Linked DNA regions of Homo sapiens: region 2 is linked to region 1. Evidence: promoter capture Hi-C in human tissues and cell types (Jung and others, 2019). All regions are on one chromosome and are shown on one strand. The core of a region is centred on a gene start or on the middle of the fragment in contact, and the rest is flanking DNA. Distances in the headings are between cores, read along the strand shown. Region 1 holds the start of PRR16 (proline rich 16). Region 2 has its middle 31 kb from the start of FTMT.

Evidence for each region. The method cuts DNA at HindIII sites, captures the fragments that hold promoters and counts their contacts. A contact is called where the count stands out against the background at its distance.
Region 2: a contact is called between a fragment that was not itself captured here and the fragment with the promoter of PRR16 in region 1, in 1 of the 25 tissues and cell types used here (dorsolateral prefrontal cortex).

What each region holds. Positions count from the first base shown.
Region 1 is chr5:120,461,279-120,466,487 of GRCh38, forward strand. PRR16 (proline rich 16) reads left to right here and starts at 3,022. Exons shown (of 2, transcript NM_001300783.2): 1 at 3,022-3,367. The coding sequence starts at 3,209. RefSeq lists a silencer at 2,941-2,990 and an enhancer at 3,396-3,897. The HindIII fragment of the contact is 4,324 bases long and covers 543-4,866 here.
Region 2 is chr5:121,880,040-121,885,248 of GRCh38, forward strand. No RefSeq gene overlaps it. Among named protein-coding and RNA genes, the nearest start is that of FTMT, 31 kb to the left of the region's middle. The HindIII fragment of the contact is 3,804 bases long and covers 704-4,507 here.

The DNA of each region.
Region 1 (5,209 bases), core at 1,772-4,271:
CACACACACACACACGCATACACATGAGAATACTGATAAAGGCTTGTAACTAAAGAAACAAAACCTAGATGATCTCCTGTAATTATCCAATTCTTCCTGTTACAAAACTCAGAAAATGATGAATAGAGAGACAGGGAGAATAAAATCCTGGGTTTGCAATCACTTCTATAAATGAGTAAGACTCTCCTTTATTTAGAAATGTATTATCCTGTCTAAGTTTATAAGTAATGTGGTTTGGTTGTGTACATTTGCAGCTAGCACTAGTACATTAACGAACTTACAGAAAGATTTACCAGAAATTTTATTAGGTGTCACTTTTGCTGTTTGGTCTCTATAACTGGAGTCTAAAACATCCTATATACTGATCTCTGAGAGAGTCTAGGATTACCCAAAGGAATGAAAGATTTTTCCATAGGGTAATACAAAAATAGGAAGTAAATACACTTGATTTATATTCATGGGCCCTTTTTATTCTGTCTTCTTCTCCTCAATATTTATAATTCCCTTTATAAAAGTTTCTTCTTTAGACATATTTTATGGAGATTTGCTTTAAGTGATCCTTAATGACTAGAAGATAGGGACAGACACCACTGCTGCAATCCTACCAGCTTTCTCAGTTTGGGCCTGGAAGCCAATTTTAACTTTTCCCTATTCAGTTAACTCTATATTGTATAAAGACATAGATAGATAGATGATAGTGATTATTTCAGAGTGAACTGTGATATGGGTGTGGGTGGTGTGTTTCTAAGCAATAATTATGATTTGATTTTAAGTCAGAATTATTTGTTTCAGTAGCAGCAGTGGATATCAGAGTATCAGAAGAGAACAGTTTTTTTTGTTTTGTTTTTGTGACGGAATCTCGCTCTGTCACCCAGACTGGAGTGCACTGGCACGATCTCAGCTCACTGCAAGCTCCACCTCCCGGGTTCAAGCAATTCTCTGCCTCAGCCTCCTGAGTAGCTGGGATTACAGGCTCCTGCCACCATGCCCAGCTAATTTTTGTATTTTTAATAGAGATGGGGTTTTGCCATCTTGGCCAGGGTGGTCTTGAACTCCTGACCTTGTGATCCACCCATCTCGGCCTCCCAGAGTGCTGGGATTACAGGCATGAGCCACTGTGCCTAGCCTGTTTTGTTTTTTTTTTTTTAATCTTTAGTGAATGAGATTCAGAGTAGCATGGACATCTTCTTATATTGTGGGAGGATTATTTTGTCACTGTGAGGGAAATCACAATTTCCTTTCCTCCTCTCCCATATCCTTGTCTAAAGTCACTTAACTTTGAGTTTGGCGGCTTTCTTACACACTTGCCTACTATTAAGAGTCAAAAATAATTCCAATCTAGAAGAATAGTACTTTCTCTTTTCCCCTACCATTAGCTTTTGCTAGTTTTGACAATTTTGGGGAGTCTGTAAACCTGATATAATTATTTTAATGTTATATTTTTTATAAAATAAAGAATTTGAGGAGAAAAAGGATGTTTTAAAAATCTAATTCTCCCTACCTCAGAGAACTCAAGCATATTACTTATTTCACACTTTTAATCATTTCTTCTCTTTTTCTTTTCTCCAGTTTGCATGCTGCAGACTTGTTCTTATAATCTCTTCTTAAGTCTTTCCAGCAGCATCTGCTTTTCACCTTTTCTCATTTCTTCCCCTGATTTTTCAATGCAGTTTTCAATGGTTTTCTTTTGACACCACTTTCAAATTTCAATTTTTTCTTCTGTTCTCTTTCTTCCTCTATATTCCACATATGACTTCCAAAGGTTTTGTAAAGATGAATTGTCCAGGATTAAGAGAGTGATTGATTAAGAGCCTACAGAACTGGGAAGAGGAGAGCTGCCAAGCTTTTCTTTATGTGTAGCACAGTGGAGCTACCCAGAGTGTGAGAAGCAAGAAACAGAGAGCCTTGCTAAGGCACGACGAAAAGGGGAAGCCTATTAAAAGAATGATCTGGAGGAGTGTGCAGTGAAGAAAATAAAGTAGAGCCAGCCTGCTGGGTCAGTAGCTAATAGCCCATGGGTTTACAACTAAGGAAGTTAAAATTCTAGCTAATGAGAATTGTAGACACCTACTGAGAGTGAACCGAAGGCTTCCTATTAACTTCCCTTCTTGGGTCTTTTTGACAGAACAGTCAGAAAGTTGTTTCCTATTTGTTTAGTAGCAAAAGAGTTGAAATGGAGGTTTAAAAAATGATGAAAGAGAAGTTGGAGGCAATCTCTTACTCAGCTCCTTCACGAGGTCCAAATACGATGTCTCCCCCACTCCACTCAAAATGTAAATCAGCATAGGTCACAAAAAGAGGAAGGACAGTTAAAAAAAAAAAAAAGAGTTGGGCCAAATAAGACATACAGCCAAGATGACTGAGACAATCAGAGAGGATTTGGGGTGTGGGGACTTCAAATTAATAAATCCGGTATTAGCTTTGTGGAATTAGCAGGATTAGGGTACCTCTTTCAAGAACACTGGTTGAATTTCATGGTTTCAATAGATGACCATTAGCTGTTATGTGCACCCCCCCCCCCCTTTTTTCTTGCAGAAGTTAAGAAGTCTGCTTAACTCGCAGGTCACCAAGAGATTGATTAAAGGCCTCTGGACATCATTTGGGTTTGGATAAATCTGTAGGGCCACTTTACAGACTGTCTCCAACTCCTGATCCCACTGTGGTTCTTTCTGAATTGATCCAGGTCCCTGCTAGCAAGTGAAGCAGAAAGAATCCAGGCTAGTTGTGAGATGACATACAGCAAGCAGGCTGAGATGATGGGGACATTTCAGAACCAAGAGGAGGGGGCGGGCAGGACACGGACTTGTCTCCCCCACCTTGATGCCAAGGTGGCATCTGGGAGATATCTCGAAGGGCAACGTCGAGGGGACTGCAAGCGTCAACCCTGGCGCGGCAGCACGGCGCCCCTCTCCGCGGGCGGGGAGCGAGCGCGTGTGCGCGAGAGCGCCGGGCGGCGGCGGGAGGAGGCGCAGGCGCGCTGCTCGCCCGTCTGCAGCCCCGAGCCGAGCGCCGCGTCTCGGGAGTTGATGGCAGCACCACTGTGCGGCCGCCCGGCCGAGCGCGGAGCGCAGCCACTCGCCGCTGCCCAGGGAGCGCCCAAGATGTGGGGGGACCGGGGCGGCAGCGGCCGTAGCAGCGCCAGGGACGGGGGCACGCAGCAGCCTCCGCTCGCCCGCCTGTCCTGACCTGCCTCGCTTGCCCCCAAAGAATGTCAGCCAAGTCCAAGGGGAACCCCTCCTCGTCCTGTCCAGCCGAGGGACCGCCGGCAGCCTCCAAAACCAAGGTGAAGGAACAGATCAAGATCATCGTGGAGGATTTGGAATTAGTCCTGGGCGACCTGAAGGACGTGGCCAAGGAACTTAAGGAGGTGAGAGGCGCAGGGGTGGGGAGGGAGTTCGGCACCCTTCGACCCCTCCGGGGTCCCCTTTCCGATTTTCAGCAGGGACAGCCAGATTTCCAAACTCCTGGGAAACTACAGAAAAGGCGCCTGCAGACGGACTTTCTTTGCTCCTGGAGTCCTGAGAGGAGTTGTTGTTGCACTTTTTAATTTTTTTTTTTAATCAGGAAGAAATCAACTAGTGTTTTAATCGATGGACCTGGGCTGGTGGGAGGGATGAACGCACGCGTGTCTCTGAATCTGTGTGTGTGACGACGGGGGAGAGGGTTAGCTGGGGGTGTGTCGGCAGAGGAAGTCGTGAGCAGCCCGGCTGGAGCGTGCAAGATGCTCCTCTCCTGCCCTATTGCTTCCCCAGAGTCCTTTGGCAAGTCCGCTGCCTATCTGTCAGCCTCCCCAAGTCAGGGCTGAAGAGGGGCCGGGTTCTGGGCCCTGGGCCAGATCAGGGAGGGCAGCCTGGAGGAAGCTTGGCTCAGACTACCCTCCCTGTCTCTCGAGCCTCGCTGTAGGGAAGGCGACCCGGGCTGCTGGCAGCCTTGGGGCTAAGGAGGGGGTCTGGGACTTTCTCACTTTCTCAGTTTCTGAAGCATCCCCTGCTCTCCTCCGAACGTCGTTACCAGTAACTCTGGGCCTTCCCGCCACCCTACCTCTGCTTCCTTCCTTCCACCCTGTCGCCACTTGGCATTGAACCCGAGAAGCAGGACGCGCAGGAGAGTGTATGTGTGGCCGGGGTCTTGCCATTGGCGTCCTGGCTCTCTGCAGCTGGGACTGCTTCGGTTCTTCCCCGCTTTTCCTATCCCACTTCGGTTCAGCCCTACTCCCGCCCGCCCCTAGCCCCAGGTGATCCAGATGGAAAGAAGCAGAGAAGGTGTCAGGGCTGAGGCTGCGTAACTCAGGCGGCGGCTCCGGGCGGGGGCGGGGGCCGGGCTGGGAGGGGTGGGGTCTCCCGAGCCAGGCTGGCTGCCGGCGGCGTCGCGGAGCTGGTAGCAGAGTCCCAGCGCGCCGCTCACTACTGAATGGGGTCCTGGTGCGGTTCTCGGTGAGGGAGTCCGCAGCTCCGCTGCGTGAGAGCTAAGACTAGAACTTCGAAGGTGGCGGTGGCTGCAGCGGGAAAAGGGGTGGGGCGTAGTCTAGGTCCAAAATTGTAATCCTGTTTCTGAAGCCAACGGGGAGGAGACTGAGGGTTGTTTGGATGACTGGCCTCTAGAGATTAACCTCCTGTATTCAATTTCCAAACCAAATTTCAAGAGCCCCCTCGTCTTCCTCCCCTTCCCCCGTTACCTCTATGAACTGAACTCTGCATTTGTTACCTAATGCAAGTCTGTTAAAATGGGCCATTCGTCACCAGGGTTAAGTTTGCCAGTGGTAAATGTCGTTCCTGTAGGTTACTCCACAGACAGAACATAATTAGTACTGAGGTCCTGAGAGTGGCTGTTAGTATACATAGATTCAGGGATAAAACTTGTTCGTGTTTTCAGGGTTTCTGTAGGATTATTGCTTCACAACTGGTTGACAGATGGTGGGGTTATGCATTGAAATTCAATTCTAAAAATGCTGTCCCTTTCTTTGTTATTCTTTTATATGACATCTTTGGTAGACTGTGTTTTCATCTGAAACATGGCGTTTTAAAAAATGAAATTGGGCATGTTCCTTTCGGCAGAATTGTGCTTAATAGTTGGTGAGGTTTCTATGGGCGATGTGGAAAACCTACAGCGGCACAGAAACGTATTTACTGTTTTCATGAGGCTGAGACTAAAAGAAAGGTAGTTAAACAGAATTCTGCATCTGTGAGCCATACTTCCTTATGTTTTAATG
Region 2 (5,209 bases), core at 1,356-3,855, 1.4 Mb after region 1:
AGTTGCTCTGGTTCACAGGCCTCTGACAGAAGGAGAGGGTCTTTTAGCACCTTTGGTGCATAGGGCAATAGAGTCCTAAAATTATTTTGAGCAGATCAATCCAACAGAGGCATAAGGTAACAATAACAGATAATGTGAATGAGAACACAACAGGTAAAAGGAGCCTGCTTTGCAACCTGGGAAGCTGTTCCATTTGCTCTAAAATCACAGAGGATCATATATTGTTTATACAATGTGACATAATAAATTTTGAAAACTATCTGAAAACTGATCTAATTCTATCCCTAGTTCCTATGTCTTCAGTTGGAATCAAAATTGAAATTATCTTGCTTGGATAAGCATGCTTTCCACATGGCAGTTTACAGAGCAAAAAATAAACTATTTTTTATCAAAAAGAAAAATATAGAATAACCTAGTTAAAAGAATATTGATTTTTTTCTTATATAGCTGGCACAAATTAAAATCATACAGTAGAAGTCCAGCAGCTAACTCTGGAGTTTTCCCCGAATTTTTCAAGGATCTCCTCTTCCTATTTACCTGCTGTTCCTCCCTCTACCCAGCCTCAGATGCCCTAAATTTAGTGTTTCTCAAGTTTCAGAAATGTACTAATCTATTTCAATGTAAAAAAAAATGCTCTTTGAGGCTTCCTAGTATTGACAAATTATTTTTATTATTGTTTGTCCAATATGTATAAACACAAAGCTAAGTATAAACTCCTTATGCTTAGAGCTTATGGTTAGAACATCAATTCTAAAACCAAAATAAATATATACAAACAAAATTATAAAAGCAATAAAATTCAAATTAACATTAATTTAGTGTGGTAAATTATGCTATTTTGCTGCAACAAAATGTAAAGATGATACTTAACACACTGGTTTGTCATCTTAGTTCAGAATGCTTACGCTATCCTGTGATATCTGATGATTCAAGTATTCTAAGACTTCTCTATTAAAACTATTGGAAAATGTTCAATTGTGCAGTGCACTGTTTTGTAATTGGGCCTTTACTTGGTATTAGATGCATCATTTATGTACGAAGCTCTGCCTCTGTTCTTTTAATATTATTCTACATTTAAACTACCCCTTAGCTTAAACACATTATATTCACCAAGGCACAACTCTCTATGAGGGCAATTTTGCCCTACAAGGGACATTTGGTAGCATACAGAGACATTTTGATTGTTACAAAATGGAAGAAGGAATACTAGCTTCTAGTAAACAGAGGACAGATATTCTGCTAAACATCCTAAATGCAAGGATAGAGCCCCATGACAAAGAATTACCAAGTCCAAAATGTCAGTAGAGTGAAGATTGAGAAGCACAGCCAAGGCAAATACCAACTGTGAACAGTCAAGTCCTACTTGAGTCCTTGGTTATAAGTGGTTATCTGGATGATCCAAAATATGCTTATATCAATTTATTTCATATTTTTGGTTGAAATTTTTAAAAGAAATTTAAATTGGCATTCTACCTATCTAAAAATTATTGAGCTTCATCAGATATATAAAAATTAAAAACTATAAGAACCCAATGAGAGTTATCATTTTGAAGAAATTCATTTTCTTACATAATATTATTAAAAAATCACACAAGGCTCTGGGATTTTTTATTCTTAATCTAATTGTTTTAAAAATACCACTCTAAGAATTAGCCTGTGTTATATATACTTATAGAATTACTCTAAAGTGAATCACCTTCAGAAAATGTTTGTTAGTCACCTAATTGACTGTAATAACATACAAAAGAAACAGAATTTACTGCAGAATCCATGTTATAGTATAACGGAGCTGGATATACATTTCTAAAAAGGGGCGATGATCTAAGAAAGTTGGTAAACTAGAATTATAGATTAGTTTAAAATGATATGATAATTAAGAATCTTAATATCATCCCTAGTTTATCAGAAAAGCATTTATTGAACACTTGTTATGAGGCATCGTTTTTATAAACTTTAATCTCAGGTCAAGCACAGTGTATTTTTCCTCCCTACTAGTTTCCATGTCTGATGGGCTCCAGTCAGAAGGTCTGGGAAATAAATATTTGCCAAGGATAAAGAAAAAAGCAATGCTTTTAAGGCTAAAATTCTAGTTTGCTGCAACAGAAAATGTTTCAAAATAGTTTGCATTTCAGTTGCTTCTTAACATCTTCTTGCTAGTTGCAGCAAATTGTGGATCATCTTTAATACATTTACTGCTGCCTAAGAGGCAGTATTGATTAAGACACTGGCCTAGAATCAAGCAGTCTTCATTGGACATTTGATTGTTCTGACCGCTGATAGTGTGGCCTTAAGCCTATTCTTCCTATAGTCCATTTTTTATTTGCATAGTAGACATAACATTAATAGTTCTATTAGCTTTTTGATGGCTAAATGAGGTAAAAGAGAGTGCTTAGAAAAATATCTGGCACTTGATAAGCTCTCAGTAAGTGTTTGCTATAATTATTTCTTTATTTGAGTTGTTATATGAGGAATAATTAAAAGATTACAAAAATAGCAAATGAAGATGATTAAAGCCCCATTTTCAAAATGCAGCTGGATATTTGAAATGAACAGAATTATCCTGCCTAGAGTAAATCATTCTCTTAATTCTCTCTTGACAATAGTTCCACTGAAAATGTGCCCATTTACTATGCTTTAATTCAATTTTTTTCATTAATTCAAACAAATAAACATGTACTGAACACCCACTAAGTTCCAGAGCAGATGCAGTCTAATGTGGAGATGCAAAGAAAAATAAGGCAGAGTCTCTGTCTTCAAGAAATTAATGATGAAAAGGGAAATTGATATTGGCACAGAACCAAATGACCAGAAAAAATGCTTTAGCCCACTCCCTGATTCACAGGCTTACTTAAAAAATGTTAGTGAACATTTCATAGCAACTGATAATGCAGGTAAAACTAAGAGCAAAGAACTGTAGCTTGCATGCATTTGTATATGAAGAACTCCTTTTATGAAGAAAGATGCTGATTATAGGTTGGGAAAATAATCCCAAGCTTCTCTTGGAATTATTCTCTTAGAATTATCTCACTCCATAGTTTGCCTTTCTACTGTATTGTGCAGAAACACAATGTGGGTCCACAACACATACACACACACACACACACACACACACACACACACACACACAGCATTTAAGCATGCATTTTTTTTTCTTTTAACTTCATATACTGTTCAATAAAATACTCAGCATGGGTTCATCTTAAGATGGCCTCCAGTTAAATAAGATGGTGGAAATCAGTCCCAATAAAGAAAAGACAGAACAGACAACTGAAATCAGAAGTATTGCATTTAGAACACTCTTGCCATTTGCTTGATTCCCCACAGCGTTGTTCATGAAGCTTCCCCTGCAAATACTTTGGGTATTTATAGCCTTATCTAGCTTCTGCAATGTTCCTGGGATTTGTCTGCTAAGAGCCTTGAAAGGAAAAGCATTGTGAAGAGGTGAAAATGACAAAGTAGAGCTATATATGGAAAGTTAGGAGCAAATGATGCTTAAAAGTTAACAGAAGAACAGCAAAATAATCAGCATGCAATTATCCTTGGAGGAATATTTCCACCGGCAGAATTTAAATCATTGCACTTGTTCTTGTTATATTTATTATAATAATATTAAACCTGTAACACTTCTGGGGGACAAAAACCAATGTGGTCTTATGTCATTGATACATAATAACTGAGGATCTACATTGCAGTGTCATTTGGCTCTGTAAAAGGAAATCAGTTCTAACTTTTTGTATCTATAAAGGATGTGAGATTTTTCAACAACTTCGAAACTTACAAGTTAACCTGTCACACCAAATAGCCAAAACAATTTTAAGCAAGAAAACAAACCTAGAGGCATCGTACTTCCTGATTTCAAAATATGCTACAAAATGACACCAATCAAACAGTATGGTACTATCATTGAAAAAAATACACATATAGACCAATAGAACAGAATAAAGAGTCCAAAAGTAAATCCACTCATATACAGGCAACTCATCTTCAACAAGGATGCCAAGAATACACAATGGGGAGAAAGTAGTGTCTTCAATAAACGGTATTGAAGAAACTGGATAGTCACATGAAAAAGAAGAAAATCAAGCCGTTATCTTTCACCATATACAAAAATTAACTCGAGATGGACTAAAGATTTGAACATAAGATCTGATACAGTAAAACTAGGAGAAAACAGAAAATACTGGAAAATCTTCTTAACTTTGGTCTCAGGAATGATTTATTGAATGTAACACCAAGAGCACAAACAAAAAATCAAAAATAGACAAATTGGTTTATATGAAACTAAAAAGTTTCGGCACAGTACAGTAGAAAGGCAAACTGTGGAATGAGATAAAATATTTACTAGCCATATATCTGATAAGGGGTTAATATCCAAAATATATAAAAACTCCTCAAACTCAATAGCAAAATAACAAATAACCCTATAAAACAATAGGCAAAAGATTTGAATAGACATTTTTCAAAAGAATATATACAAATGTCCAACAGGTACTATACGAAAAAATGCTCAACGTTATTAATTATCAGGAAAATGCAAATCAAAACCACAGTGAGATATCACCTCACACCTGTTAGGTTGGCTATTAGTAAAAAAAAAAAAAAAAAAAAAAAAAAAAAAAAAAAAAAGATAAATGTTGGCAAGGATATGGAAAAAAAGAGAACTCTTATACTCTTGCATATTTTTGGTGGTAATGTAAAATGGTGCAGCCACTATAGAAACAGTATGGGCGTTCCTTAAAATATTAAAAATAGAACTATCACAAGATCCAGCAATCCTTCTTTTGGGGAAATATCTGAAGGGATTAAAATCAGGATCTTGAAGTGATATCTGCACTCCCAAACTCATTGCAGCATTATTCACAATGGCCAAGATATGGAAACAAGTCAAATGTCTATCAACAGATGTTTGGATAAAGAAAACGTGGTATATACCTACAATGAAATATTATTCAGCCTTTAAAAAGAAAGAACTCCTACCATTTATGACAATATGGATAGACCTAAAAGACACTATGCTAAGTGAAATAAGCCAGACACAGAAGGACAATTAGACATAATTCTTCTTATATGAGGTATCTAAAATAGAAGTAGACAACAGGATGGTAGTTACCAGGAGATGGGAAGAGGGAGATATAGAGAGTTGTTATTCAATGGATATAAAGTTAGAGTGATACAAGATGAGTAAGTTCCAGAAATCTGCCGTGCAACA